Regions from separate parts of the Homo sapiens genome. Here regions 1, 2, 3, 5, 6 and 7 are each linked to region 4. Evidence: promoter capture Hi-C in 16 types of primary human blood cells and fetal thymus (Javierre and others, 2016). All regions are on one chromosome and are shown on one strand. Each heading gives the region's core, a stretch centred on a gene start or on the middle of the fragment in contact. The rest is flanking DNA. Distances are from core to core; before and after follow the strand shown. Region 1 overlaps LAMA4 (laminin subunit alpha 4). Region 2 overlaps LAMA4 (laminin subunit alpha 4). Region 3 holds the start of LAMA4 (laminin subunit alpha 4). Region 4 holds the start of MARCKS (myristoylated alanine rich protein kinase C substrate). Region 5 overlaps LAMA4 (laminin subunit alpha 4). Region 6 holds the start of LAMA4-AS1 (LAMA4 antisense RNA 1). Region 7 has its middle 37 kb from the start of RFPL4B.

Region 1 (3,640 bases), core at 489-2,988, 1.7 Mb before region 4:
TTAATTCAATAATTGATGTTGTCTTATAACCAAATGTCCACTTGCAAAATGATGTGGTAGAGACTGCCTGTGTTCAGCATGCAAATCCAGCCATGTGCCATGTGACGACTCATGTCTCTCACCAATTTTCATTTTGGAATCTTTAGTTTTACAGTTTGCCTTGATGTCATGCCACTTGACCTCCAATTGTCTGTAATGTGTCATTGACAGACTGTCACCTCTGTTATTTTCTCCCAGCACTGAGGGAGATCTTCTCTTATTATAACGTGACACAGCAGAAAGTCCAGAACATGTTTCAATGAATGTTTTCCTTAAAGTTATTATTAAAATTAAACATAAAATTAGGAAAATATTCACTGAGAACTCCTGAACCTTCATTTCCAAGGACAACCAAGGTTCTTAGGTCACGGTTTGAGAAATACTTCCCTAGTATGAGAGTGTGGTATTGAAGGTCAAGGTAGAGCGGTAGTTCACAAAGCAGTGAGAGTCCTGGTGCATGAGAATCCGACGGGAAGTCAAAATACAGGTCCTGGGCCTCAGCCCTGGATATTCTTTTTCAGTGGGTGGTGAAGGGGAGTTGGGGAGGGCTCAGGAATCCAAAGTTTTCCTGGAGACAGTTGGACACAGATTTTAAAACCACCACTTGACTCAATGATCTCTAAAGTGCAAAAAGACCTAGCAGGTTCTTGGTTTGGACTAATTATTACCTTTGTTTAAAACAGATATCCATACAAATCAGTTGCATATTTAGAAAAGCTCTTTTGGAGAGGTTCAAGTTCACAAATACATTGAAAGCACAGATTAGGCGAAGGTTAACTCAGGCAACTTAAGAGCTTGGCTGTTCAAGCAGAAACCCTCCTCTTAACCCCAGGGTCAAACAAATCAAAAGCAGCAAAGACCACCGCAATTTGGAAGACATAGCTCTTCTGGCTCAGTTTCCTCATCTGCAAGATGACAAAATACAACCTTCTCTAAGGTGGCTGTGAAGATGACAGATGAAGAATGTAAAGCAACAAGGACATAAGTGATAATTAATCAGTGGCACTATTTAGCTCAGAGCTGTAATTTCTAGCTAAGGAAACCGAGACTCAGGGAAATGAGCCAACGTGTCCCAGGAACACAATCGGCAGTGGCAGAAGTTGGACAATGACCACCATGACTCATACTGTCACCTGTTAATTCTTATTGAGCATTTACTCAGTGCCAGGTCCCACACTCAAAACTTTGCAGTATTATCTCATAACAGTTTTATGAGACAGGTAACTTTATTTTCTCCATTCTGTACAAGTGGAAATTGCCACTTGGAGAGGTCAAAGAACTTGCCCGGGTGGGTCACAAAGTGGTGGAGCTGAGATTCACACTCACCCAGGCTAATGCTCAAATCTCTTCTTTTCAACACTCTACTTTCACTTTCCAAACCAGTGCTCTTGTCTGGAGCCTTCCACTCCAGCAGCAGATCTGACCCAGCCTTACTGGGTAATGGCAGAGCTCATGAGCATCCTATGTGGGCTGAGGCATTTATCATCTGTAATTCCTTGTCAGAGGTGGGCGTGCAGTCCTGCTGATGGTTTGGGATGACAGAACCCTTCTCTGCACCCCTGTGTGATTTTACAGGACTGTGCCCTTAGGGTCCAGGTGATTTCACTTCTGCGAGCTTTGCATTTGGTCAGCAGGGCTCTATCTAAGGCCATTAACTCTCCCCGTGGGGGCCATTGAACACCCATTAGCAATACTGCTTGGTCATTATCAAACTAAATTGAATTTAACCTCAGACACTGAGGAGAAAAAACTCCATCCTGGCTGATTAACAACCGCCACAGACCTCCAGTGAGCCAGAAAATGAGTAAATCAGGTGCCTCCTATTCCTGTGTCTCCAAGTAAGGAAATATAGGATAAGTGTGTCACAAATTTCAATCAACCCAATGTAATCGATCATCTCTGTCAGTCCCTCCTAATAGATGAAATTCATGTGGACCCTAAGCTCGCTTTCCCTCTTATGGCAATAAATAAATAAATTCAAAAAAATCCACAATCCTTTAGTGAAATAATTATCCACATTTTGCATATTTAATAATCATAATAACAATGCCTTCCAAGTGCAAAGATTTTTCTCTGTATCACAGATACTGTGGCTTTTTTTTTTTTGAGTTTCAGACCCACTTTTTGAGAGATAGAGGGTGTTTTCTTTGGAAGTGAGATTGCTTATAATTTAAAGTTTACATTTTAAGCCCCAGGTTGAGTTTGTGAGCCCATCTGTGCTGTTGAGGGCCTGCAGATGAGTGACTGGGTGCTTGACTATTTCCGCTTGGCTCTTCCTTCCCTGTCTCTAGGGCACTACATATCGTTTAGCTGCCTAAACACAATGGTGAGGCCAATGCTAATGGCATTTCTGTTAAAAACAAGAAAACCTGTCTGAGAGACTCTTTGAGCAAAAGCCATTTTATCTTACAACACTGCGAGCAGCTGGCAGGTGGAGGGAATGGGAAATATCTTACCGAGTCATTCAGTGGAAAGCCTCTCGTGCTCTGTGGAGAAGGCCTTTCTTACATGAGCAAAGCCCAGAGCAGTTTAGAAAAAGAGAGAAAAGAGTGTCATGTGCTTTTCAAAAGAAGACATTTATGTGGCCAACAAACATATGAAAAAAAGCTCATCATCACTGGTCATTAGAGAAATGCAAATCAAAACCACAATGAGATACCATCTCACACCAGTTAGAATGGCAATCATTAAAAAGTCAGGTAACAACAGATGCTGGAGAGGATGTGGAGAAATAGGAATGCTTTTACACTGTTGGTGGAAGTGTAAATTAATTCAACCATTGTGGAAGACAGTGTGGTGATTCCTCAAGGATCTAGAACCAGAATTACCATTTGACCCAGCAATCCCATTACTGGGTATATACCCAAAGGATTATAAATCATTCTACTATAAAGACACATGCACACATATGTTTATTGCAGCACTATTCACAATAGCAAAGACTTGGAACCAACCCAAATGCCCATCAATGATAGACTGGATAAAGAAAATGTGGCACATATACACCATGGAATACTATGCAGTCATAAAAAAGGATGAGTTTATGTCCTTTGCAGGGACATGGATGAAGCTGGAAACCGTCATTCTTAACAAACTAACACAGGAACAGAAAACCAAACACCACATGTTCTCACTCATAAGTGGGAGTTGAACAATGAGAACACATGGGCACAGGGAGGGGAACATCACATACCGGGGCCTGTCAGTGGGTGGGGGGCAAGGGGAGGGATAGCATTAGGAGAAATACCTAATGTGGATGACGGGTTGATGGGTGCAGCAAACCACCATGGCACGTGTATACCTATGTAAGAAACCTGCACGTTCTGCACATGTATCCCAGAACTTAAAATATAATTGAAAAAAAAAAAGGAAAAAAAGAAAAGAGTGTCATATGTAAATACCAGCCAGAGATCCAGAAAACCTAAACTCCTGTGGAATTTGTTTACTTTTTAGTATGGTATAAAGCTGGTATAAAGAATGGGCGAAATAACAGCTTTGTGGGTTGTTTTTTTCTAATTTATTGCTCTATTGACAAAAGGTGATTCACATTTTATTTACTGAGGAAACCTCACTCTTTTCTGGGGAACACTAATTTTAGTAC
Region 2 (3,908 bases), core at 1,346-3,845, 1.6 Mb before region 4:
TTCTTTTGTTTGTTTATTGTACAGATGGGATCTCATTATGTTGCCCAGGCTGGTCTTGAACTCCTAAACTCAAGTGATCCTCCTGCCTTGGCCTCCCAAAGTGCTGGGATTACAGGTGTGAGCCACCATCCCTAGCCACTATATCTTCTTTCTTTCTAAATTAAATTTATAAGAATATATCTATATGTGTCGCTCTGGGGGATAGGAATGTGGGTGATTTTTACTTTGTACTTCAAGCCATTTATAATTAAAATAATCTGTTTAATAGGAAAATTATACTAATGTATCTATATTTTTGGTCTGTTTTCTTACACTGAACATATATTACATTAATGAGGGAAAAAAGATATTTTTCTCCGGACAGGATGAGGTGGAGAAACCATCATTAAGATGAATAAAATGGCTATTTCTTTTTGTATTCATTTTCTGCGTTGGAACAAAGTAGTTGGAGGAATGTTGGCAGCTTCACTGAGTGCACATGTAAATGTGTATATGCTAGCCCATCCCTAAACATTTATTAGAACCTGTTATGTCACAGGACCTTGGAGGGAATCACATGATGTTTGTTCCTCTCACCACTAGGTCAGAGATAAAGCCATGATTGCTCCCATTCTGACAATGTCATTGTAAAAAGAGTGGCTTAGTCATTTCTTTCAATAGACTCTAGCAGGAGGGACTTCTTCCCTCTTTAATTTATCTCAGTCTTGCATAATATTGACTGCCTAACAGCAGCTGATGTGCTTGACAGTCTCCACTGCTTTATATTTTAATAAATCAGATAACAAACAACCTTTAATTGGTCAAATTATCAGAGATGTACGTTATTAGTTCAAGTGTATCCATGGGATTTTTCCCCCCAAATGTCACTGGGATTAAAATAACAGGAAACCGGAGATGGAAGCATTAGAAAGGAGTAGACTTTGGCAGCTGCAGAAGCCTACACTGTGACAGAGGACATCCTGGTTGTAATGCTTATTTAAGAAGATGGGGGAAGGGAAAACAAATATCAGGACTAAATAAACACTACAAAGAGATAGCAACATTAGTATTTTGTCACTTAATTCTCTGTCCCTAGAAAAATGGCAACTTCTAGGGTTAAAGATCAATAAAAACATTTGCATTTGCATCTTAATGTGTGAATAAAATATCACTTTCATGTACACACCTAAGAGGCCATTTAAAATAAAAATTATCTAATAGGGACAATTATGCAAATGTTGAGTGCATTTAAATAAGTATTCTTATAGTTTATGCAAAAATACTCTTGTAGTTTTGGAAAACCTCTTTTTGCCAGATGGGAACTTGAAGAATTTTTCTGCTGTATCACACAGCTCACGAAGGAAAACATGCTATTTGAGCATAAGTTCTTATAAATGCCCTCTATGACTTCCACTGAAGCCACTTCTGGTAAATATTTCAACACCCATTTTCACTTAAGTTGTCAGTCCATTCATTAAAAATGGGAAATATGTAGCAAGTACTTTTCTGCTGGAAGACTTCTCAATCTTTCGCACAAGGCTCTATCATGCTTCAATGAAGAACAGTCTATTGGAGAATTCATTTCAGTTAAGGAAAAAAATAGTCTCCTGGGGGCTTAAACACAGACTTGCAAAGACCACAAGGGCAAAGCTTTCATTTTCATCAGCTATTGGGTTCAAACTTAAATTTCTTTTTTAAAAACTAATTTTGATCTATAGACCTGGTTATTTTAGGTTCTAAAATAGGCTAGGCAACAACTGTTTCATTCTCCTGGTTTATGTGGAACGAAGCCAAACATATGGCAAACTATACGATTACAGAGGAATTTGGATGTATGGGTTCCTCCTCTATGTATCATTTTCAATCCCACCGCCATTGGTCTACAGCAGGCAACCAGCTGCTGAGGGTGGTGGGGCAGGAGCCTCCGGGTGCACGTGCACACTCATGCATATGCCTTGGTGGACCCTTAAAATCAGAAGTAGTTTATATGAGTTGTTTCACAGGAAAAGCTGAAGGGTGAACAAAAGCACTTGATTAGCAGTTTGCTCCTATGTGGCTCAAACATCCGAAAAATATTTTATCTTCACCCAAGATGCAAATGCCCAGTGAAGTACGTGAAGTGTTATAGGTGCCCCAACTTACCACACAGTATCCTGAGCCGTCCAAACACTCGTTGGAATTGCCATTACAGTCGCAGGGCACACATTCTCCCGACAGGGTGTGAAAGAATCCAGCATTGCATTTCTGCAACAGACACACCAAACCATTTTGATTATTGAAAAGATTGATTTTGGTCAATATTTTCTGAGAAGAAATCAGAGAAAGTGATTATTAAACAATCTAAACATTTCTAAAATGAATATACTAAATGATACATACAAAACATACTAAAATAAACTATTTATACTACCATTCAGTGATAGATGATGTATATATAATCTTCTTTGTTACATAACTTTTTCCCTCCTTTCACTTTTCAGGAGAACAGAAATGCCTTTAACACTGTCTTATCATTGCAAGGAAGAATAAGAAGGTATTACGTAACAGTAAGGGAGAAAAAAATGCTAATGTTTTCTTCCAGTATAAGCAAAACAAAACAAGACCACAATTAAGTATTAGTCAGGGTGAGGTCATGCTCCCTATAAATAAAGAAAGACTTCTCGTTTCAGCAATCACTAGCTATAGGAGAGCAACTTAGCTATAGGATAGCAACTGAGTCTTTCATGAACTTCAGTTCTTAAAAGCATCTGTTTCTTCAGATGCTAACATGTTAAAGGGAGGGATAAGGAAGTTAATGAGTTCTTACACTTGTCAAGTCCTGTGTGGGTGCTGTTCATATATGTATTTCATTTGTCTTCAGAATGCTGCGAGGAACACATGACTTTCCCTTATCCTAGTGATGAGCTCATGAGATTGAGAGGTGCTAAGTGGCTTTTGGGGATGTTAAACTATCCTGTCATGCACCAATTGACCTGCACAATCATCAGCTGCCCTCCCCAGATATCATTAGTGTGCCATTTGAGACACATTATGAGATTGTTCCTGGTTTATGTGATTAGGCTGTGGATATGCATTTGATATTTCTTTGGAATGTCTCAGTGATGAAGGGCAGAAATGGCATTATGGGCCTGGAAATCCGCTCCCCGCCCATCAGACAAGTTTATGTCTAAAGAATTCCAGACAGATAAGAATCTGCTTTGTTTCCACAGACTTACAGAGTCCAAGATTTCACATCATACACCCCCATTGACCCATTGTAGTTTGCACTTCCCTGGCGACCAGGAAATTTTCATTATATCTGGCTGAAGTCCCTCTGATTGCTATGCAAACCTATTTCCCCTTGCTTTTTACTCTGTAAAGAAAGAGTCACTAAACACCATTCACAGTATTTAAAAAAAAACACACACATCAGTTCACACTTTAAAACTAAAATTTAATAAACCCCATTTGGAGGAAGTTTAATAAAGAATAACAACATTTGTCTATGAAAAAAAGGCAAGGAAATTCCACATTTCCAAGTTAGAGAAATAAGGCTAAGAGAAGATCAATTTATAATTTTTTAATGGAGAGTTGTGGTTGATGGTAAGCTTCTTAGTTTCCACTAGAAAACAAGAGAGGGAAGACACTAAGATTGCAGTAGGAAGCATTTAATTTAGACCATTTAATTTCACATTTTTAGTCTTTGCCGCAAAGTAAAACATACATGTTTTCATTGTGATGCAGTACACAGATTGGTATCTATATCTATATTGGTGTAGATATGGAGATAGATATAGATATCCATATATATGTGTCTCAGAGAAAAGATTCACAAAGTAATAATGTACCTAAAACTTCTCTATTGTATTTAAGAGTATATCCTGGTCATGACCCATAAAATTGATCTGATGACCCATGAATGTGTTGCAGTTTTGCATGACTGCAGGGTT
Region 3 (3,553 bases), core at 986-3,485, 1.6 Mb before region 4:
TCACCAAACATATGAGCACATAAGAAATTTCCTAGGGTCTTAGCATTAATTTTAAGGTTCTCTAAAACTCAAAAAATTACTTTCCTATTTTTTTTGTGGGATGAGAGTTACAAAAAACAGTTGTATATGGCTTGTCTCTTTAGACCTAACAGATACAAATACAGGATGCCCGGATAAATTTGAATTTCAGATGAACAATGAAAACAAATTTTAATATAAATATGTCCTCTGCAGTATTTGGGATGTGATCAAAATTCATTCATTATTTATCTGAAATTCACATTTGAGTGTCCTGCAATTTATCTGCCAATTTTACTCTTAAGTAAAATTAAGCATTTCATTCAGGGACTTTACGTGCTCAAAGCAACAGGTGGAGATAATGCTTCCCTGGGGTTAATTCCAAGCCTGTAGAGAAGCAAAGCCTTCCCATTGCATGAAGTCCCTCCTGGTCTGGCTTCTCCCCAAGTTTCTGGGTATGAAGTTGACCAGAAGCCATGCTCCCTCTTTTTCATGGAGGCTACATTTTATACCACAGTGAGAGGTTGGCATATTCTGACCCTGTCCACTCTCTTTTTTGGGGCAATGTGGGTAGGGCTTACTCTGAAGAAGGACCATGTTCATGCACCTTATTTTTAATCATCAATAATTAATAACTATAATTGTACTAACAATTAACAGAATTCATAGCAATAATCCATGCATCAGTGATGTTAGAAATGGTGTCAATCCACATAACTGTTTTAGTTGTACAGTTGCTGTAACCATAGCTATAGAGTGTGGTGTTTGTTTTGCTAGGTCAATTGCTCCTTCCTTTCCCATGAACTTAGGTGACTTTATTTTCCTCCCTCTTAGCATGTCCCATGCAATGGGCATGCTGTTGTCTGTTTCAGTTCAGGGGTTCTTAAATCACTTGTTCTGGATTCATTCTCCTTTACCAGACCTCTACATTCTGGTTTTGTTTCCAACTTAAAAGCTATTGTAAGGTATTCAAACAGCAGCTCTTTGAATAAACATATTATCAATAGCATATCCTGAGGCTTGATTTTAATGGAAACATCTTGTTTCTGGAATACAATGGCTCGTTTCTACTTAAGATACCCTCTCAGCAGTTGTCTAACAGCTCCTTTCATGACCAGCCACTCTCACTCACCCCCTCACCTTCCCTGCTGCAGAAGACTTCTTGTCTAATATGAGACAAAAAGATCCTGCAGTAGTGTTCCCACTGTCCTAACAGCACAGAGGAGCAGGAAGCCAGTGACAGGGCACACACGTTAAGTGCCGTGGCTTGACAAAATGACTACTGGGACACGCAAGTGGCAGAAGTCACCGATGTGCTGCTGCAGTCCCCGGTGAGAGTCTAGCGGATGAACTCAGAGCACCAACACATGCACTCTCACCCCTTTGAGCAGACACATTCCGAAGCCTCAACTTTCAACTCTCAACATCCAAATGCAACTTACAAAGGAAAACTCTTTATTTCAAGTTTCCGAACTGACCTAGCCCAGGTGAAACTCTCAAGGCACTGGGGAGAGGAAAGAGGCGGAGAGAGAGAGAAGGACGAGTGTGGCACAGCCCGCGGGGGCGCAGGTGCCCCAGCAGGGTGGCAATGGCAGGGACACTGTACCTCGGCCGCAGGCGGCAGGCGTCCCAGAGCCACGCGGGGTTCGCTCGTCTCAGGCGGGTCTTGCCTGCCAACCGCTGAGCTCCCTTCAATGTCAAAAGGAAAAGCGTTGTCGTCCCCGGACGCGGCGCGGGAGCAGGCAGCGCTCCAGAGGAGCCACAGAGGCAGAACCGAGCGCCAGGCTGAGCTCAAAGCCATTTCTCCGCTGACATCCAGTAGTGCTCTTCCAGGGCTCGGGCGCTGTGGGTCTCCGTAGGTCTCCCGCGTGGTGCGGCGGTGCCTCGCTTATTTTCCCTCCTCTCCGTGTGCAGTATCCCGAGGTGGCTGCGCAACCAGCAGCTTAGGAAATAAAGGGAAAGTGCGAGAGTAAGGGAGAGTTCCAGCCTCTCTCTCCCTCTCTCTCTCTCCCCTTCTCCCCCTCTCTCTCCCTCTCCCTCTCCCTCTTTCACTTTTTCTCCTTCCCGCAGAGGTTCTGGCTCAAGAACCTACAGATGGACGGAGCTTACAGTACGGCATCAAAAGGCAGACGGATTGGGGTGAGCCCCGCCAGCGCTAGGCCACCTCCTCTCCCTGGCCGTTCGGGACTGGGGACTGCGCTGTCCTGGCTTCCTTCTCACATTCATTCTCACCACTCCCTTTTTACCTTCTACTCCCAGGCCCTCCCACTCTAAGCTGGCTTTTCAGACACTGAGGTCCGCCTTTCCCTGCGGTCTTCCCTCCCCTCTCAGTTTGGAGCCCCTCCAAGGGCTCCAGAAGAATATTCAGCTTTTGTGACGCTTCCTCACCACTCTTATTTATGTAGTCAAGGTACCGGATGTCTTATCTATATTTACATAGATATTTTATGTGGCCCCCGCTAGTTTGCAGGAAAGTGGGTGGAAAAGGGATTCCAGGGCAGGAACCAAAGGTAGATGATCTCTGAAGGCAGAGGGTCAGGGTGCCCACTTTCTTGAGCAAGGTTTCTCGGGTTTTTTCTGGGGGATAGACTGTTGCACTCTTTGTGCTAATATCTTCTCTTCAGATTCACTGGCCACCCCTCTTCCTCCCTCCAGTCCTCACCCAGAGGGCTTGGGAGAAGAATATCTTTCACTGCAGCGCTGGAAAATGACTTCATTACCCAAATGCATGAACTTTTATTTACAAAGACCATCTTGTTTTCATCCTAAAGAGGTGCTTTGTAAGGGGCCCGGAACAAGGCTTGCAGTGTATGAGCCTGTCAAGTATACTGCCTACAGCCCCGGCCTCTTCCTCTTGGCCTGTAATCTCATGCCTACTACATCTGTCTGAATCATGTAACCTTTCCAAGACTTCAGGGTGAAGTTGGGCTACAGCTATGTCAGGGGTGCCCCTGTGGATGGGATAGTGTCTGCAACAGCTGATAGGTACCTTTGTTTACATTGGCTTCATAACGAGCTCTAAACATTTCCACAAGATCCAACCATGGTTTAAAAATGGTCAGATGAGACAACCATAAAATGACACCCAGGTAAGCTTCCAGGTGAAATAAAGCATTTTTGTATAACCTAATCATAAAATAAATAAATAAAGCCTTTCCATAAAACCTAATCATTAGCTCCATTTCATAGAACAAAAGTCATTTTATCTAAGTGTAAGCAAAACCATTTATTTTGCACCTAACATGTGCCAGATACTTGGCATATGCTATTTGTAAACCTCAGCATTCCTGCAAAGTAGTACCATTATTTTCCTTTTACAGAAGAAGAAAGTGAGGTTCAGAGAGACTAGGACATTTGCCCAAGGTCGCACAGCTGGTGGAAAGCAGAGATGGGGTTTGGATCCAGGCCTCACTGATTCCAAAGCTCTCTTTTACATCTGTATACACGACACTGCAACTTTAAAATAAAGAGTATGAATTCAGAGGTGAAGGAAATGGACACTTTTATTTTTTGAGTGCCTCCCATGTGCAAAAAA
Region 4 (3,726 bases), core at 494-2,993:
GCTAATACAAGGGATTTGCGTCCATCCTGGCGGCTGGGGTCGTGGGCCAGGCCAGCGGGCTCTCTTAAGGGTAATAACACGTTTGCTGGCAAGATGCATTTCTACGGAAACGTCTTTACATCAGCTCTGGGGAATATGACCATGGTCGAATAATGCATCTGAAGGAACTGGACAGTGAGAAGACGAAGCTTCACGTAACAATGTTCAGCTTGGTGATTTTTAAAGCAACGCTTGAACAAAGAGTTACTGGCTTGAACCAACCGTCTTTTTCACTCAGAGTGTGACCTATTTCCCTACAATGAGCAGAAAATAAAACTGTTTGAGAATTCAGAGCCAGCACCAGGAGAAATGAACCATTCCCTCGACTGCTTCTCACCTTCATAAGCGAAAGATTATTCCTTGCAAGATCACCAAATGTAAACGAGAAAAGGTGGTCTGATTTTGCCACGAGTGAAAACTTTGGGAAGAAAATGCTTATTAAGCTGTTTCCTTGGTTCCCCTCACCCCTCATACTTTAAGTCAGTGCCTTGTCTCTCACGCACAAAAAGCGTCTGGTACTTCGGTGGCAAGGAGTGCAGTGACAGATGGAGGTATCCTGTGTACCATTATAGAAGGTTTTCCTCTAACCCAAGTTAGACTTGGAGAGCTCAGGGATCTTGCTATCTCTCAACATACAGAACATTTCTCCTTAGAACTGCAATCCGGTTTAGAATGTCATCGTTGCTGCTGCCTCCCTTCCTTTCAGGAGCACATTCGCCTGCGTGCGCACTCACACACACGTTCAAAAAGAGTCCATTCGATTCTGGCAGTAGGCTGAAAACGATCCATATTGACGCGAATAACATCCCAACTGTAAATATGGATTCGTCTACTCGAGGCTGTGTCTCATTTCACCATAGAGGAAAATTATGTCATTTAAAACAGTGATAAAACGCGAAGAGTTTCGATCTTCTGTAAATGGCTCTCACTTTGAATTGTGGGGGAAAAAAATCACTAATTGGGAATAGCCAGAGAAGGGGGAATTTGTTGAGCGCCCAAGGCCAATCTCAAAATATTTTATTTCATGCCAATGTGGGAGAGGGAAGGGAGTGTGGCTTCGCTGTTTGCCGCTTTTGCATTTTCCACATCTGGCCTACAGACCTAATTCTAACTTGCGATCTCGCTTGATGAAATTCGATCTTCGTGGTTTAAATACCTTTCAATTTGGGACGATTTAACCATTGCAGCAGTTCAAAAAACAAACCCTGAGCATTATCTGTAAAACCAATATGGAAAAAAGAAAGAAAACATGCTGCAAACACACAAATCGCAACCATTGTCTTTAACACTCGCATACACACACATACACATAAACACACGGAAAGATGGGGGAGGGGAGCGAGTGGAGAGAGAGAGACACACGGATATAGACCGACGAGAGTCAATGCGAGTCAAGTTAACGCTTTCTCCGCCCCGATGCACAAGTACCCCCCTCCCGTGTTAATTAATTCCAAACAAAGCAAGCCAATCAAGAAATGCATTATTATTTTCAAGCAGAGAGAGACGAGTGCCATGTATTTTTTAATTGATTTATTTATTTGGAGGACATTAATTCTCGGTCTGAGGCTGATTTTCAAACCGTTTGCAAAGCGCGGCTCCATTGTTCGCCAGGCGCGCAGACCCCGCCCCCTGCTTTGTGTGCGGCGCGCGGATTGGCCGACGCGCGCGGGGGCCGCGTCAGCGCCCGCGAGCCCATTCATCTGTGCACTTGGGCGTTGGACCCCGCATCTTATTAGCAACCAGGGAGATTTCTCCATTTTCCTCTTGTCTACAGTGCGGCTACAAATCTGGGATTTTTTTATTACTTCTTTTTTTTTCGAACTACACTTGGGCTCCTTTTTTTGTGCTCGACTTTTCCACCCTTTTTCCCTCCCTCCTGTGCTGCTGCTTTTTGATCTCTTCGACTAAAATTTTTTTATCCGGAGTGTATTTAATCGGTTCTGTTCTGTCCTCTCCACCACCCCCACCCCCCTCCCTCCGGTGTGTGTGCCGCTGCCGCTGTTGCCGCCGCCGCTGCTGCTGCTGCTCGCCCCGTCGTTACACCAACCCGAGGCTCTTTGTTTCCCCTCTTGGATCTGTTGAGTTTCTTTGTTGAAGAAGCCAGCATGGGTGCCCAGTTCTCCAAGACCGCAGCGAAGGGAGAAGCCGCCGCGGAGAGGCCTGGGGAGGCGGCTGTGGCCTCGTCGCCTTCCAAAGCGAACGGACAGGTAAATTCTACCTGTGGTTGTGGTCATTTATTTCGTGTCTTTCTCTCCTTCCCTCCTGGTGGCTCCCAAGGCTCATTCGTGGAGAGGAGTGTGGCTGGATTCTAGTCTGAAAGTTGAATGGAAATGGATAGCCTAAATTGTGGATTTTTCATAGCCGGGGTCCCCCCACACCAAAGGAGTGGTTCCTTAGAATCCTGGAGAATTCTTGAGTAGACGGGAGGAAAGGAGTGATAAATCGTCTAAAATGGCGTGGTTTGGAGATTGGCAGAACGTGACTAGCTAGGTGCCCTCCTTCCCCCGCCCCCAGCCAGGTTTCATTTGTGTTTGGGGGCACAATGGTGTTTGGGTGTCTCTCGGGTTTGTTGTCGAAGCTGGATTGTCTTCGAGATTTCTGAACTGGTGGTGTGATTGTGTGTGGCGGGGGGGGGAGTCGGGAAAGGGGGGCGCAATGGGGATGGTGGTGGAGAAAGGCGAGGAGGGAAAGGCTGTCTTATTGTATGCCGCGGCGGCGTGCCCTGGGTTCTTGGAAAGGTGGCTGGCTGGGGCCAGACAGAGGGCTTCGGTACCTTTTGATGAGGCTTTCCCACTGTCCTAAATCTTTATTCGTAGCTGTCTGTGGAATTACACATCCATTTGATTTTTAAATGGTATCTGTGGGGTGGGAACACTCGGTGGGTCCTTTAAGAACCTTTCCAGATGGTCAAAAAGAGGCGGTTCGTGCCTTTCGGTCGGGATTGTTCTTGTGCGTGGCGCCTCGACCACCCGCGAGGGGCCGCCCGGCGCTGCCCGGACCCAGGCAGATAGCCACGATTGGGTGGACCCGAGAGGTCGGCCATGGGTGGCTGCTTCGCAAACACTGGGCACCCACCACGCCTCTTTTCCTAGAGAAGAGATCGTGTCGCTTCGCCTGCTCTAACCTACTGGGGAAAGCGAGGTCTGCCAAGAGGCTTTAAACCCGTTAAAAATGCAAAATGAGCCGCCGAGGCGCGCCCAGGCTTCGCAGAATCGCAGGGGAAGGTGGGCGTGGAAGCAGAGGCGAGACCTCAGAAATAATGGGTTTCCCCCTGCCTTGTTGGTTTCAGCCCGACCGGCAGGCCAGGAAACCACCTGAGCTTTGTTTGCGGACTGTTGGGCTGCGCGATCCGGGCTCGGGGGCGCCTCGGCCTGCGGGCAGGGCCCGGCTGGGCAGGGCGGGGTGGCCCGGCGACTCCGCCCCTCCTCGCCTGCCTGCGCCCAACGCGGCGCGGTGGAGGCACAGCGCCCCCTGCCGGTGCCAAAGGCCTGGGTGGGCGCAGGAGCTCGGAGGGCCCCGCGCGGGCGCTCCTGGCTCGAGTGCTGTGATCCCCCTGGGAATTCCTGGTATTTTGAAGAGGCCTTTATGTATTTAGGGCGAAAGAGGGATGTGAAACGTAGGCGCGAACCACCAGCTCTGGCTCTGTGCCTTCTTCCAAAGGGCGTTTGCTGTGTCAACTAGTCCCTG
Region 5 (4,053 bases), core at 585-3,084, 1.7 Mb before region 4:
GGAGAGAAAGACAGTTTGGTGCTGAAATAGTCAACGGACAATCAAATGACCTTAAAGTGATATCTTTCGAAAGGTAATAAAATGAACTAAGAGTAATTTCATGATAGTTCAGTTCACTGCATTTTATTGGAAATTTTCTACTTTTACAAAATGTGACTTTTATTGATTTTGAATGCCAGATTTATCAAACACAACTTTATGAGTGAAGAGTGAGTAGGATGGATCGAGAGCAGCATTTTCAATAGAACTCTCTGCAAGAAGTTCCACTATATTCAGTGGCGCAATGCCTGTTTCTGCACAATGCTTGTGCCACTGAATATAGTAGCTGCTAGCTATGTGGCTGCTGAGGACTTGAAAAGTGGCTAATGTGACTGAAGAATTAAAATTTTAATTTTATTTAATTTTAAGTAATTTAAATTTAAGTAGTCATATGTGGCTGGTGGTCATCGTACAGTGCAAGAAACTAAAACATTCAGTCATCTGATCTTTATAATGCCTGCTCACTGGTTAGATATGAATTTATTATTATTCTGTGACACTGAGCTGCTGTTGTAACCTGCTGGAAATACAAACCTGAACAAGTCACGTGCGTCCTTACCTTTATTATATCATCAAGTTCTGAAAGAGTTAGACGAGGTGTTGTCAGAGAGTCCGCAGATGTGCTCAGAGACATGTTCACCACTTCCATTTGTTCCCTCACTCTTTCCTGTTGTTTCTGCGGGAAGGAAGAGTAAGGGAGAGTGAAGTGAATATGTCTTTAGGGAAAGCGTTGGGGAGAGCAGTAAATGTCAACTTGCTCTCTTTGGACTCAGACAAATCTGGGTTCATATCCCAGCTCCATCCTTGCTGTGTGCCTTTGGGGAATGCTACCTGTTTGATGCTGCTTTCTCATTTATAATACAGAGATAACAACAGTAAGAATCTTGGGAGATTAGACATACGGAGGATTATTATAACACCGTCATTTCAAAGAGAGCTAGCGCCTTAGAGAGGGCATTTGTCTCTTTTTCCCAGAATATAAAAGAGGACTATGGAGAAAGGATTGAACACAGGCTCTATATTTGCAGTGATTGGAATATGAATTAATTCAAAAAGTATTTATCATGTGCCAGCCTTGGGCCTGACACAAACAGCCCATTTGGACAGGAACAGAGAATATACAAAAATAATCTTATTATGTCCTTTTAAAAATTAAAAATGGCCCTACTATTAAAGCATCAAATTTTAATCTTGCTTCATACCTCTCAGAGCTCTTTATTGTAAATGCTCAGATGTTTTGAGAAGGGAAAGTAAATACTAATACATGTCTTGATGAGTACTTTAATTTCTACCATCACTTTTAGGTTCTAGAGGCAGGGACATTGTGATTCTGAAGAAATATTATGGGGCTTCCAATGAGTTTAGAGTTTGAAAGAAACATAGAAAGAAACTTTAGGAGGGAAAAGTAAAAGACTCATTTTACAATTTGAGTGAAAAATGAGTTGAAGTTACCTTAGAAATAGTAACAAGTCAGAGTTGAAATATACATTATAGTGTAATCTAGAATATCATAGAAATAATTATAGAAGCCTAGATAGAGAAGGAAATACTTTAAAGCTTTTTAAGTTCATCTTAATGTCCTTTCTTACTCCCTGCAGTCTTTTCTGGCTTAAAGAAAAGGAAGAATGGAACCCATCTTCTCCAGATATGTTGTTATGGGGTAGGTGTAGGTCTAGAGACAGAAAAGAATCACATTTGAACATCCTCTTAATGCAAGAACATTTTTAAAGAAACAATTTTCCCTGAATATCCATCAAGCCTAATACAGTGTGACTATCTGAGATCAATTATTCTTATCTTTACAAAGACTGGGAGTTATACAGCAAAAGCAATACTGTAAAATATGTGTATTAAAATATGTAAAAGAAGGGAGTTGAAAAAAGGTTGGTATTATTTACCTCTCACAGAACTGTTTTCCTTTTACAGTGTTCTTTACCCCTTCTGTAAGTTCTCTCTGGGTGACTGCGGGAGAACACTGCTAACACCCTGAAGTCAGAGACAAACTTCAAAGCTGTGTGCTAATAGCACTGTATATAAGCTTATTTGCAGTAGATGAAAAACAATATGCTTCAAGTTAATGAGTTTCTCCCACTTACCGTATATAGCATTAGACAGAAATGAATAAAATTAGCTTTGAAACAAATAAAGATATTTCCACAGAAAAGTGGTCAACTTGAACAAAGTAAAATGTTGAAAACTGATAATTATGAAAATGACACAATTGTCACTATTCAGCATGCTTCACTGTGCATATTACATATGCAAAAAAATAGAAAAAGTTCCACGGTCAACAACAACAACAGCAACAGCAACAGCAACAAAAACAACAAAAAACAGTCCTGGGAAGGTAAAGCTTGGGTATATAGTAATCCCTAAACAGTGCTTTTGAAGGAGTATTTTACTTACTTTTAAACTATACAATCTCATGTTCATCTGATAAGTTTTTAATCATTCTGTTACCCTTTGGAGATAGAGGTAAGATGACAAAATAATGTAATTGCTAGTTGTATGGCTACTGTTGGTACATGTCAAAATGATTAAGCTCTGTGGGTACTTTTTTGGTTTTGTATGATAACTGAAATTTGGGGATTATTCTTTTCTAGCCCATGCTGTAGGTGTAATAGTGAAATGTAAAATTAAAACAATTAAATTTGGGCCGGGTGTGGTGGCACATGCCTGTAATCCCAGCTACTTGGGAGGCTGAGGCAACAGAATTGCTTGAACCCAGGAGGTGGAGGTTGTGGTGAGCTAAGATTGTGCCACTGTACTCCAGCCTGGGTGACAGAGTAAGACTGTGTCTCAAAACAACAACAACAAACCCACTTAAGTTTGTTTTCTAAAACACAGAGTCAAATTCCAGTAAGGTCAGATCCATTCAAATCTATTTGTCGTAGGAAAGACTATAAATAAAACATTGGATTTTAAATTTTGTTGGAAGGAATTAAAATTTCATGATATTTTGCAAAAGTATGCAAAAGAATGGTGAAAGTAGTGTTTAGTAATTTAGAAGTCCAAGTTAATATGAAATAAGAGTATTTGTGATCATGAAGAACCAGTGTACATAAATCAAATCTGTATTACTTGACAGTGCTCCAAGCATTTGTCCATCCATCTGTTCATCAATAGATGTAACAAATGCAAGTTATTGTGTTTGGTGCTAGGAAGATACAATTTGTGCAAGGCTGGAGTGCTGCCCTTGGATGCTCACGGTCTAGTGGGGTTAGACTAGATGCATACCATCACACACACACACACACACACACACACACACACACACACACACACACACACACAGAGTTATGCATTCAGCAATCAAGAGTGACTCCACCAGGCGCGGTGGCTCACGCCTGTAATCCCAGCACTTTGGGAGGCCGAGGCAGGCAGATCACAAGGTCAGGAGATGGAGACCATCCTGGTGAAACCCCATCTCTACTAAAAATACAAAAAATTAGCCGGGCGTGGTGGCGGGTGCCTGTAGTCCCAGCTACTCAGGAGGCTGAGACAGGAGAATGGCACGAACCCGGGAGGCAGAGCTTGCAGTGAGCTGAGATCGCGCCACTGCACTCCAGCCTGGGCAACAGAGCGAGACTCCGTCTCAAAAAAAAAAAAAAAAGGAGTGACTCCTAGACAGGAACATAGAAGAATATATGCTTAGTGTGATGAAGCCTGGTGATCATTCCAGTGATACAACCAATGGCTGCACCAGTAGAGAGGAAGGAAGGACTCCTTCTGGCAGCTAGTGTTCTTTTTTTTTTTTTTTTTGAGGTGGAGTTTCACTCTTGTCACTCAGGCTAGAGTGCAATGGCACAATCTTAGCTCACTGCAACCGCTGCCTCCCGGACTCAAGCAATTCTCCTGTCTCAGCCTCCCAAGTAGCTGGTATTACAGGTGCCCACCACCATGCCCAGCTAATTTTTGTATTTTTAGTAGAGACAGGGTTTCACCATGTTGACTGGGCTGATCTTGAACTCCTGACCTCAGGTGATCCACCTGCCTTGGCCTCCCAAAGTGCAG
Region 6 (4,031 bases), core at 758-3,257, 1.6 Mb before region 4:
TGCTGATTCATGACTTTGAGGAGAAAGCGCATTTTCTAGATAAACATGAGCTTGTGTTAGCAGATTAAAAAAAAAAAGAGATTGTAATCAAAAGAAAACCAACGTAGTTTAGATAATCTCAGATGAAGATCTAATGTCATAACTAAAAAACAGATCCAACACGTAGCTTTCAACATAACTGAATGGAAGAGAAGACAAAAAATGTGCTAAGAAAAAAATAACAGAATGCTTATTTCCACCGAACACTTTGATATACTGCATGTCCAAAAACATAGGGCACAGGAAAAATGTGCTTCATCTGCCAAAGTAACCACAAATACTGTTTGAGACCAGGAAGAGCCCAGCCCTTTAATAAAAACCTAGAAGTTTGGAGAACCTTACAAATATCTTTGGATATCCAAATATCTTCGGATATCCAAATATCTTCGGATAATACTCATAAAGATGATTACTCTGACCTTACACAGACATCAGCTTCATCTTAAATACAGTATTATTCTCACCATACTGAGGATCCTCCTGACATCAAAGACTAGGGTGAGAATGAGGCGTGAAAGTGCCCACCATTTTGAAAATGGACCATGGAATGGGCAGGGTTAGAACTGTCCTGCCTCCCAAAAACCTTCCTATTTTGCAGACCATGTGGGGCTGCCCCAAACCCCTGAAATACCCCTTTTTCCTTGTCCTCTATTAGGTTCAGGGCATATCTCAGCAGATGCTGTTCATAGCAAAGTCCCTGGATTATATCATAAAGTTCTGTAGTTCTGCTGGGAATTGGCAGATTTTCTCGAGAAACAGGTATTATATATATTTTTTTGCTGTTAGAAGACTAGGGTGATTTCCCTGTGACATTAACAGTAGAAAAATTCTACATATAAAAATGGAGCTGCTGAAACTCAGAATTGTTATAAATCAGGTTGACAAGGTCATGGAGGGGTACAAGTGCCAGAGTGGACCACTTTGGTGCTATCAACGTTTCATTTTCTTCATTAATTTCTCACATTTCAATTGTTTTGGTACATGATAGGGAAGTTTCTTAAGGTCATGTGGAAACCTGACCGATCACTGTGTACAGGAGGAATACCAGACATGATATGGTCTAGGAATTTTAAAAATTAATTCTTAAACTTTTAAAACAAAAATGTTATTGTTCATTTTTGAAATAGATCTTTCTTTCTTCCTTTTAAGATCAAGGATGTTTTGTTTATTTTTATGTGACCACCAGAAAACTCTAGCCGGAAATTCTGAAATTTTAATGCACTTGAATGCTTACTTTCTAAGTATAGGTGCTGAGAGCATGGTTTAAGGGGTTGATAGCATATGGGGCCAAGGCAAAAAATGCTTGAAATGAAAGAAATGGGATGCATGATTTGGTTATAAATTAAATTCAAAATTGAGATAAATATAATGACCAAAGGCGAAGAGAACTTTCAACGTTTTAGCAATTGAATTACTTAGTTCCAGGACACAGATGACTACATAAGTTATAAGGCGAAGGTAAACATGGATATATTCTTGTCTGATCCAGCTCACTTAATGTCTCAACACCCCCGTGACGGCGTCCCTGCTCTGTGATGCAGTAGAGAAAGACAACTGACCTCAGAGCCAGGAAACTTGGTTGTGGTTCCAGTTCTAGAAACCCTGTGTGGGAACTTGGGGAAGTGACTCAACTTCTAGCTCTGGTTTCTTCCTCTTCAATGATGTTAGCAGCATGATGATTTCCAGGCTCTTCACATTCTAACAGTCTAGAACTCTGTGAAACTTCCTGCTGTCTCAACAAGTTTCCACGCTAGGAGACTTTGGGCTTATCATTTAACATTTCCATGCTTTCATAAATTAGATGAATAACCTCCGGACTGCCTGGTTTGTAAGATGGTTGTGAAGATTAAAGGTGGAAATATATAGGAAAACACTTTGTAAATCATGAAAGCTTAATAAGTATCAACACTATTTTCTACCTGAGTCAGTAGTCATTGGAAATTCCAATATTTGGCAGTTGTGAATAACTGCCAATTTAACAGTTGTTCAATATCAACAGCTTTTTAAAAGCTGAGGTCTTCAAGCTACAGGTAGAAGGAGATAAAAGAAGCTTTCCTAATTCATTAGAACATCAGTTCTCCCCAGGTATACTGCAGATATGTTATAAGGCAAATTAAAACAAGCTGCAGTTTGCCTTCATGACACTATGAAATGCTTAGGTTGCTGCTTTTTTAATTCGCATGGAAAACTAAAGTTTTTGATGCTTATTTTCTTGATTTTTATAGACATAATGTTCATCATGGAAGTACTTTTCCCCTTTGGAGATCACTGGAAACAGCTTCTGGACCACAAATGGGGTGAACTACTGTATCGAGAAAGGAGAGAGTAAGACTTGAGAGCTATCTTTTTAGCTCAGGGTGCAGGTAAGAAACTGTGGTTTATGTTTCAGAATAAGATGATATTCATTGCGATGGAATAATTGGTTTAGAAGAATAAAAACTGAATGAACATCTGGTCCTTCCTATGAAGATCAAATGATAGTGGTTATCTGGTCTACCCACTACCATCCTATCCTCTCTCCGAAGCTCCTTTGTTGTTGTCCTCAGTACTCCCAGGTTAATGACCGAGACAAAAGTGGAATTTCCTAATTTCCTTGAAAAGGGCCAAAAATACCGTCAGACAGGGAACAGGAAGCATAAAAATATCTCTCAGGAGAGCACCAATTGTTTAAAGATTTCTAGCTCATGTTTGGAGCTATTACAGGGGTGCTCTGAGCATCAGCTGCTCAATGCAACCAGTGACAAGTACTGGCCCAAGGCAGACGTGTGTACTGCTGGGAAACTGCCTAGGAGGCACTGATTTGAATAAGATTTTGAGTAACATTTTGGAGACTAGTCTTGATGTAGAATATCAGCTTGGGAGGCCCCAGCATAGTGGTTCTCAAATATTTTAGAGCAGAGAATCCCTTTTTTAAAAACCAGTAAAATTTCATGTGAAATTCATCTATAAAACAGATAAAAAAGAGGCTGCTGTGATTGAAGGAGGTAGGGAGCAACCTCCCGCTGCTCCGGAGGACTTGAACCCTCAGGCATTTCCATGGAGCCTCAGTCTGAGAGCCACTGATTTAGTAGGTTTTATGTTGAAAGGTCTCTGCAGAGACTTCTCTCCCATGATTTAATACATTTCTACACACATCAGCAGCAACTTTGACTTCTCCTTCATCCTTACTCTTCAAACATATGACAAACCATCTTGACAGAACCTTGGCGATGATCCCAGCATCTGTTCTCTCCTTTCCAGACCACAGCTAGCATCCAAATCCAGGCCTCCTTAGGCCCTCCTGGATGGTTACCAATGCACGACATGGGTTATCCTGATTCCAGGCTCTCTGCCACCTATTGCCCAATCTAGCCAGGAGACTGTTTCCCGATTAATGTTGACAAATCATGATTCTCACTGTGTTTCTCTTTCTTCTGCTATGAAGTCTTTGATGGATCCCTGTGGTTCAGCCCAACAAACTGAGACTACTTCCCTTTCCAGAAGAAACTCTGTGTCTTTTTATTTACTCATCCTGTCCCCTCAGCTTGTATTCTTTTCCTCAATCTCAAAGATTCAACTCAAATGCCACCTTGCCCATGAAGTCACCTGGGAATGTTCCACCAGGAGTGAATGTTCCTTCTATATCCTTGAAGAGTTTTTGTAACATAAGAAATTAGTTGTATTGCATTATTAGTGTGCTTGTTTCGTCTGTGTTTTACTCATCTTTGTAGGATACTTGGCACTTGCTGAGGTAGTGTGCACCTTTTTGCTAAAAAAGAGAGTGAAGATATTGATACTGATCAATCGAGTGTCCCTGGATACCTAAGAAATACAATGTGGCAGTACAGAGCCTGACACACTATTTTCCATATTTCAAAATATTGAATTAAAAGTTGGCCAGGCATGGTGGCTCATGCCTGTAATTCCAGCACTTTGGGAGGCCGAGACGGTTGGATCACTTGAGGTCAGGAGTTCGAGACCAGCCTGGCCAACATGGTGAAACCCTGTCTCTC
Region 7 (3,528 bases), core at 765-3,264, 1.5 Mb before region 4:
GTCTTAAACTTCCCACTGGGCTAGTTCAAATAAGGCAGTTGCTCAAACTTCAACCAATCAAACAATTTCTTTGATTCACCTCATAAAAACGTCCCCTCATGTCTCTTTGTCAAAGCTCTGAATTACCTCTGGTTTGGAGCTGCCTGATTCATGAATTGCCATGTGCTCTAATAAACTCTTTAAAATTTTAACATGCCAGAGGTTTTCCTATAACAGGGGCAATTATCTCTAGAGCAATTCCCCAGTGAGGGACAAAGAAATGTGATGCAATAATGTCAGCTGGGGTCAGCCAGAGATGTGGCCAAATTTCTCAAGGAGCTTCCAGTGTCAAGAGCTGCTTCATGGAGGGAGCATGTTGGAGAAGGTGAAGCATGGTGGAGCCACAGACAAGCAGAGGGGGCTGTGCAGGAGAGGTCTGCAACCTCACTGTCCTGCCCCAATACTCAAGGAATAGCTCAGGGAAGAGGGAGGAAAGGGAAAGCATGTGATAAAGACTACACCCCTGGCTAGGGAAAGGGAAAGGAAGTTTTGAATGAGATACAACATGCAATCTAAATGAAACAAAGAGACTAAGAAAACATGGAATAGGGCTCAGGTGTTGTTAGGGAGGATTTGATCTGGGATTATTGGGGACAGTTATTGGAAGAAAATAAAATTTGTATTTATAGCTGAATGAATTGAGACTCTTTAATACCACCTCCCTGATTATAGTCCACTGTTCTTTCTGCCATATGGTGCTTTACCGCTGACGTTCTCTAAATGTCTTCACTCTCATAACCTCATCCTGTTCATAGCATCTTGAATATTTGATCCTACACCTCAATTTTACAAACTCTTGGAATTTGTGTCAAATCTTGCCTCTTCCCAGAAGTCTTCCTTAATAACCCCAGGTCCACATTCCTCCCTGTCTTTCCCCCATTGCCCTCCACCATTTCAGCATTTTCTAGAATCCATCCTTGCTTTTCATTCCAATCTTCCACGCCCTAGTTCAGGATCCCATCCAATCCTCCTTCTGCATGGTTGCCACACACTGCCTGAGGACAACTGGCTGAGGCCCTGCTGCATTTGGCAAGCCACCTGCTCTGAAACAGGGTGGTGTCAACCCAGAGGGGCACCATTTTCTCAATTGCCCAAGGGCTGTCTTAGTTCACCAGGTGTGCATGGGGTCCTGTAGGCTCAGAGGGAGTGTCTTTTCCTAAGTTGCACGAAGGTGACACTGTATTTCCTAACCACCTCGATCCCACCCCAGTCTCTTCTCATTTCAAGTTGTCCTATACATAGCTGACATTAATTTTTTTTTAAACTCAAGCAAATCTCCTTTTCTACGTAAAAGCCACACTCTAGGGCATCATCAATATCATGTGTATTGGGAACTGTCGAAGGGCTAGGATGAAACAGCCTGGATGTGGACTGTGAAGAGAAATAAAAAGCTTCCTAGCACCACGAATCTCAAACCTTCATGTGCACACAAATCACTATTGGATCTCATTAAAATGAAGATTCTGATTCAGAAGGTCTGAGTGAGACCTGAGATTCTGAATTTCTAGCAAGTGCCCAGGTGATGCTGAAGATGTTAGTCCAAGGACAACACTGTAAGTAGCAGTAAGTAACATTTAATTTAATACACTGTGAGTAGCATTTAATTTTCACAAAAATCCCTATAGGGTTATTATTATTATTATTGTTATTATTGCAATTTTTTAGAGACAAGTTCTTGCTCTCTTACCCAGGCTGCAATACAGTGGTATGATCCTGGGCTCAAGCTATCTGCCCTCCTGAGTAATTGGGACTATGAGTGGGCACCACCATGCCACCATGCCTGGCTAATTTTTTTATTTTTAATTTTTTGTAAAGATGGGGTCTCCCCGTGTTGCCCAGGATGGTCTTGAACTCCTGGGTTCAAGCAATTCATCTGCCTTGACCTCTCGAAGTGCTGGGATTATGGGAATAGGGATTTAAATTCATGTCTGCCTGATTGAAGACTCCTTTTTAGCCACTATGGTGTATTCCCTCTAGAAGGACTGGAGAGGAGAGAATGGACTTGAGGGAAGAATTTCATTCAGGAAGTAAAACAAGAAAACTTGGGGATGGGTTGGCCTTGATCTTCTCAGTGGAGTTGGTGAGAAGGTCACTTAGCTCTGGTGGTGGGAATGAAAGGCCTAAGTGATCTGGGGGAATTGGGGCTAGCTGCAGAGGGCCATGTGCTGGAGGAAGAGCAAAAAGGGCTGCCAGTAGAAGGGAGCGCCCAGATAAAGCTGGGAGGATTGAACTTGCCAAAGCACTAAATCAGTGGTTTCCAAACTTCACAGTAGAATCACTTGGGGATCTTTTAAAAGTTCAGGTTATTCCCCAGGCCAATTAAGTCACAATCTCAGGCAAGGACACAAACATCAATAATTTTTGAAGCTACCCAGTAATTCCAAAGTACAGATTATTTTGGGAACCAGTGCTGCAGATGATTAGGTTATAGTGTTAAAGGGGCAAATCTTGCATTATTTTAAATAACCCAAGGAGCATTGAATAATGGTTTTGGCATTTTGCATAGTTCGGAGTTTGGCAAACTTTTTCTGTATTAAGTCAAATGGAAAAAAAAAAAATTAAGCTTTGTGGGCCAAGAGGCAAAATTGAGAGTATCATGTAAGTACTTACATAATAGGAGAAGAAAACAGATTTCCACAAAATTTTTATTGATGAAATTTGAAACTTTATGAATACTGAACTTGGAATTTTATATAATTTTATGTGTTATAAAATGTTAGAATTCTTTTGATTTTTGCAGTCATTTAAAAATGTAAAAATAATTCTCAGCTTTCAGGCCGTACAAAAACAGGCAGTGGCTGGGTTTGGCCCCCACTATGTTATAATTTGCTGACTCCTAGTGTAGTTAGTGATATACCTTGTGATGAATCCAAAGAAGCCATCAAAAATATGCATCTCCATAAAAATAAATCAGCATTCAAATGAGTGCTTGATTGACCTACAACAAAACTGGCCTTTGAAAAAAATCATTGCATTTTCTATGGACAAAGTGCAAAATGAATGACAACACTTTGAGGCAAAGGCTACTTTAACTCATATTTCCATAATAAATAAAAAAATAGCTGGTTGAAAACATGGATGACCTACACAGAGTCTACTATATAGAGTACTGTTTTCTGTAAATAACTCAAAATACTTTCAAAATATCTTTTAAAAGTATAAATAGTATTTTGATTTATTTTGAAACCATTTTGGTGTTTCACCAGATGTCAGTTCTCCTCAAGGCCTCAAATTATTAAAGATTCCTAGCTGTTGAGTACAGCTCCCTTGCGTTTGTAATGTCTACATTTGGATACCAGGATTATAGGTTAAAAAAATGGCAATTTTCTGGAAATGTTGTTTATGTAATCAGGTGGATAATCTGAAATACTTTAGAGAGGCTATAGAAATCCCTCTACTGTCTTTGGGCATTTTACATCCAGAACCTTCTGAATTATTGCATTAATAACTTCAATAGTTTCTGATTAGCAAAAAGCACAGTGAGGAAAA

The links. The method cuts DNA at HindIII sites, captures the fragments that hold promoters and counts their contacts. A CHiCAGO score of 5 or more calls a contact.
Region 1: a contact is called between a fragment that was not itself captured here and the fragment with the promoter of MARCKS in region 4, in 2 of 17 cell types (non-activated CD4 T cells and naive CD8 T cells). The highest score is 6.8, in non-activated CD4 T cells.
Region 2: a contact is called between a fragment that was not itself captured here and the fragment with the promoter of MARCKS in region 4, in 2 of 17 cell types (non-activated CD4 T cells and naive CD8 T cells). The highest score is 6.3, in non-activated CD4 T cells.
Region 3: the fragment with the promoter of LAMA4 here is called in contact with the fragment with the promoter of MARCKS in region 4 in 1 of 17 cell types (naive CD4 T cells); the score reaches 7.6 in naive CD4 T cells.
Region 5: a fragment that was not itself captured here is called in contact with the fragment with the promoter of MARCKS in region 4 in 1 of 17 cell types (non-activated CD4 T cells); the score reaches 6.3 in non-activated CD4 T cells.
Region 6: a contact is called between a fragment that was not itself captured here and the fragment with the promoter of MARCKS in region 4, in 2 of 17 cell types (naive CD8 T cells and non-activated CD4 T cells). The highest score is 6.9, in naive CD8 T cells.
Region 7: a contact is called between a fragment that was not itself captured here and the fragment with the promoter of MARCKS in region 4, in 2 of 17 cell types (total CD4 T cells and total CD8 T cells). The highest score is 5.8, in total CD4 T cells.

What each region holds. Positions count from the first base shown.
Region 1 is chr6:112,197,638-112,201,277 of GRCh38, forward strand. The region is part of intron 5 of LAMA4 (laminin subunit alpha 4); the gene reads right to left. Among named protein-coding and RNA genes, the nearest start is that of LAMA4-AS1, 37 kb to the right of the region's middle. RefSeq lists enhancers at 1,086-1,589, 1,590-2,092. The HindIII fragment of the contact is 4,372 bases long and covers 1-3,640 here.
Region 2 is chr6:112,214,247-112,218,154 of GRCh38, forward strand. LAMA4 (laminin subunit alpha 4) reads right to left here. Exons shown (of 39, transcript NM_001105206.3): 3 at 2,122-2,223. Among named protein-coding and RNA genes, the nearest start is that of LAMA4-AS1, 20 kb to the right of the region's middle. RefSeq lists an enhancer at 375-876. The HindIII fragment of the contact is 1,937 bases long and covers 1,628-3,564 here.
Region 3 is chr6:112,252,332-112,255,884 of GRCh38, forward strand. LAMA4 (laminin subunit alpha 4) reads right to left here and starts at 2,236. Exons shown (of 39, transcript NM_001105206.3): 1 at 2,128-2,236; 2 at 1,625-1,960. The coding sequence starts at 1,819. The region is part of intron 2 of LAMA4-AS1 (LAMA4 antisense RNA 1); the gene reads left to right. The HindIII fragment of the contact is 4,256 bases long and covers 1-3,110 here.
Region 4 is chr6:113,855,602-113,859,327 of GRCh38, forward strand. It overlaps MARCKS (myristoylated alanine rich protein kinase C substrate), which reads left to right and starts at 1,744. Exons shown (of 2, transcript NM_002356.7): 1 at 1,744-2,246. The coding sequence starts at 2,145. RefSeq lists enhancers at 499-558, 579-628, 899-1,444, 1,445-1,988, 1,776-1,825 and 1 more and a silencer at 3,291-3,620. The HindIII fragment of the contact is 4,373 bases long and covers 613-3,726 here.
Region 5 is chr6:112,164,562-112,168,614 of GRCh38, forward strand. It overlaps LAMA4 (laminin subunit alpha 4), which reads right to left. Exons shown (of 39, transcript NM_001105206.3): 13 at 599-715. Among named protein-coding and RNA genes, the nearest start is that of LAMA4-AS1, 70 kb to the right of the region's middle. The HindIII fragment of the contact is 481 bases long and covers 1,595-2,075 here.
Region 6 is chr6:112,234,515-112,238,545 of GRCh38, forward strand. All of the region lies in intron 2 of LAMA4 (laminin subunit alpha 4), which reads right to left. LAMA4-AS1 (LAMA4 antisense RNA 1) reads left to right here and starts at 2,082. Exons shown (of 3, transcript NR_121193.1): 1 at 2,082-2,124; 2 at 2,265-2,402. The HindIII fragment of the contact is 159 bases long and covers 1,929-2,087 here.
Region 7 is chr6:112,308,432-112,311,959 of GRCh38, forward strand. No RefSeq gene overlaps it. Among named protein-coding and RNA genes, the nearest start is that of RFPL4B, 37 kb to the right of the region's middle. The HindIII fragment of the contact is 1,172 bases long and covers 1,429-2,600 here.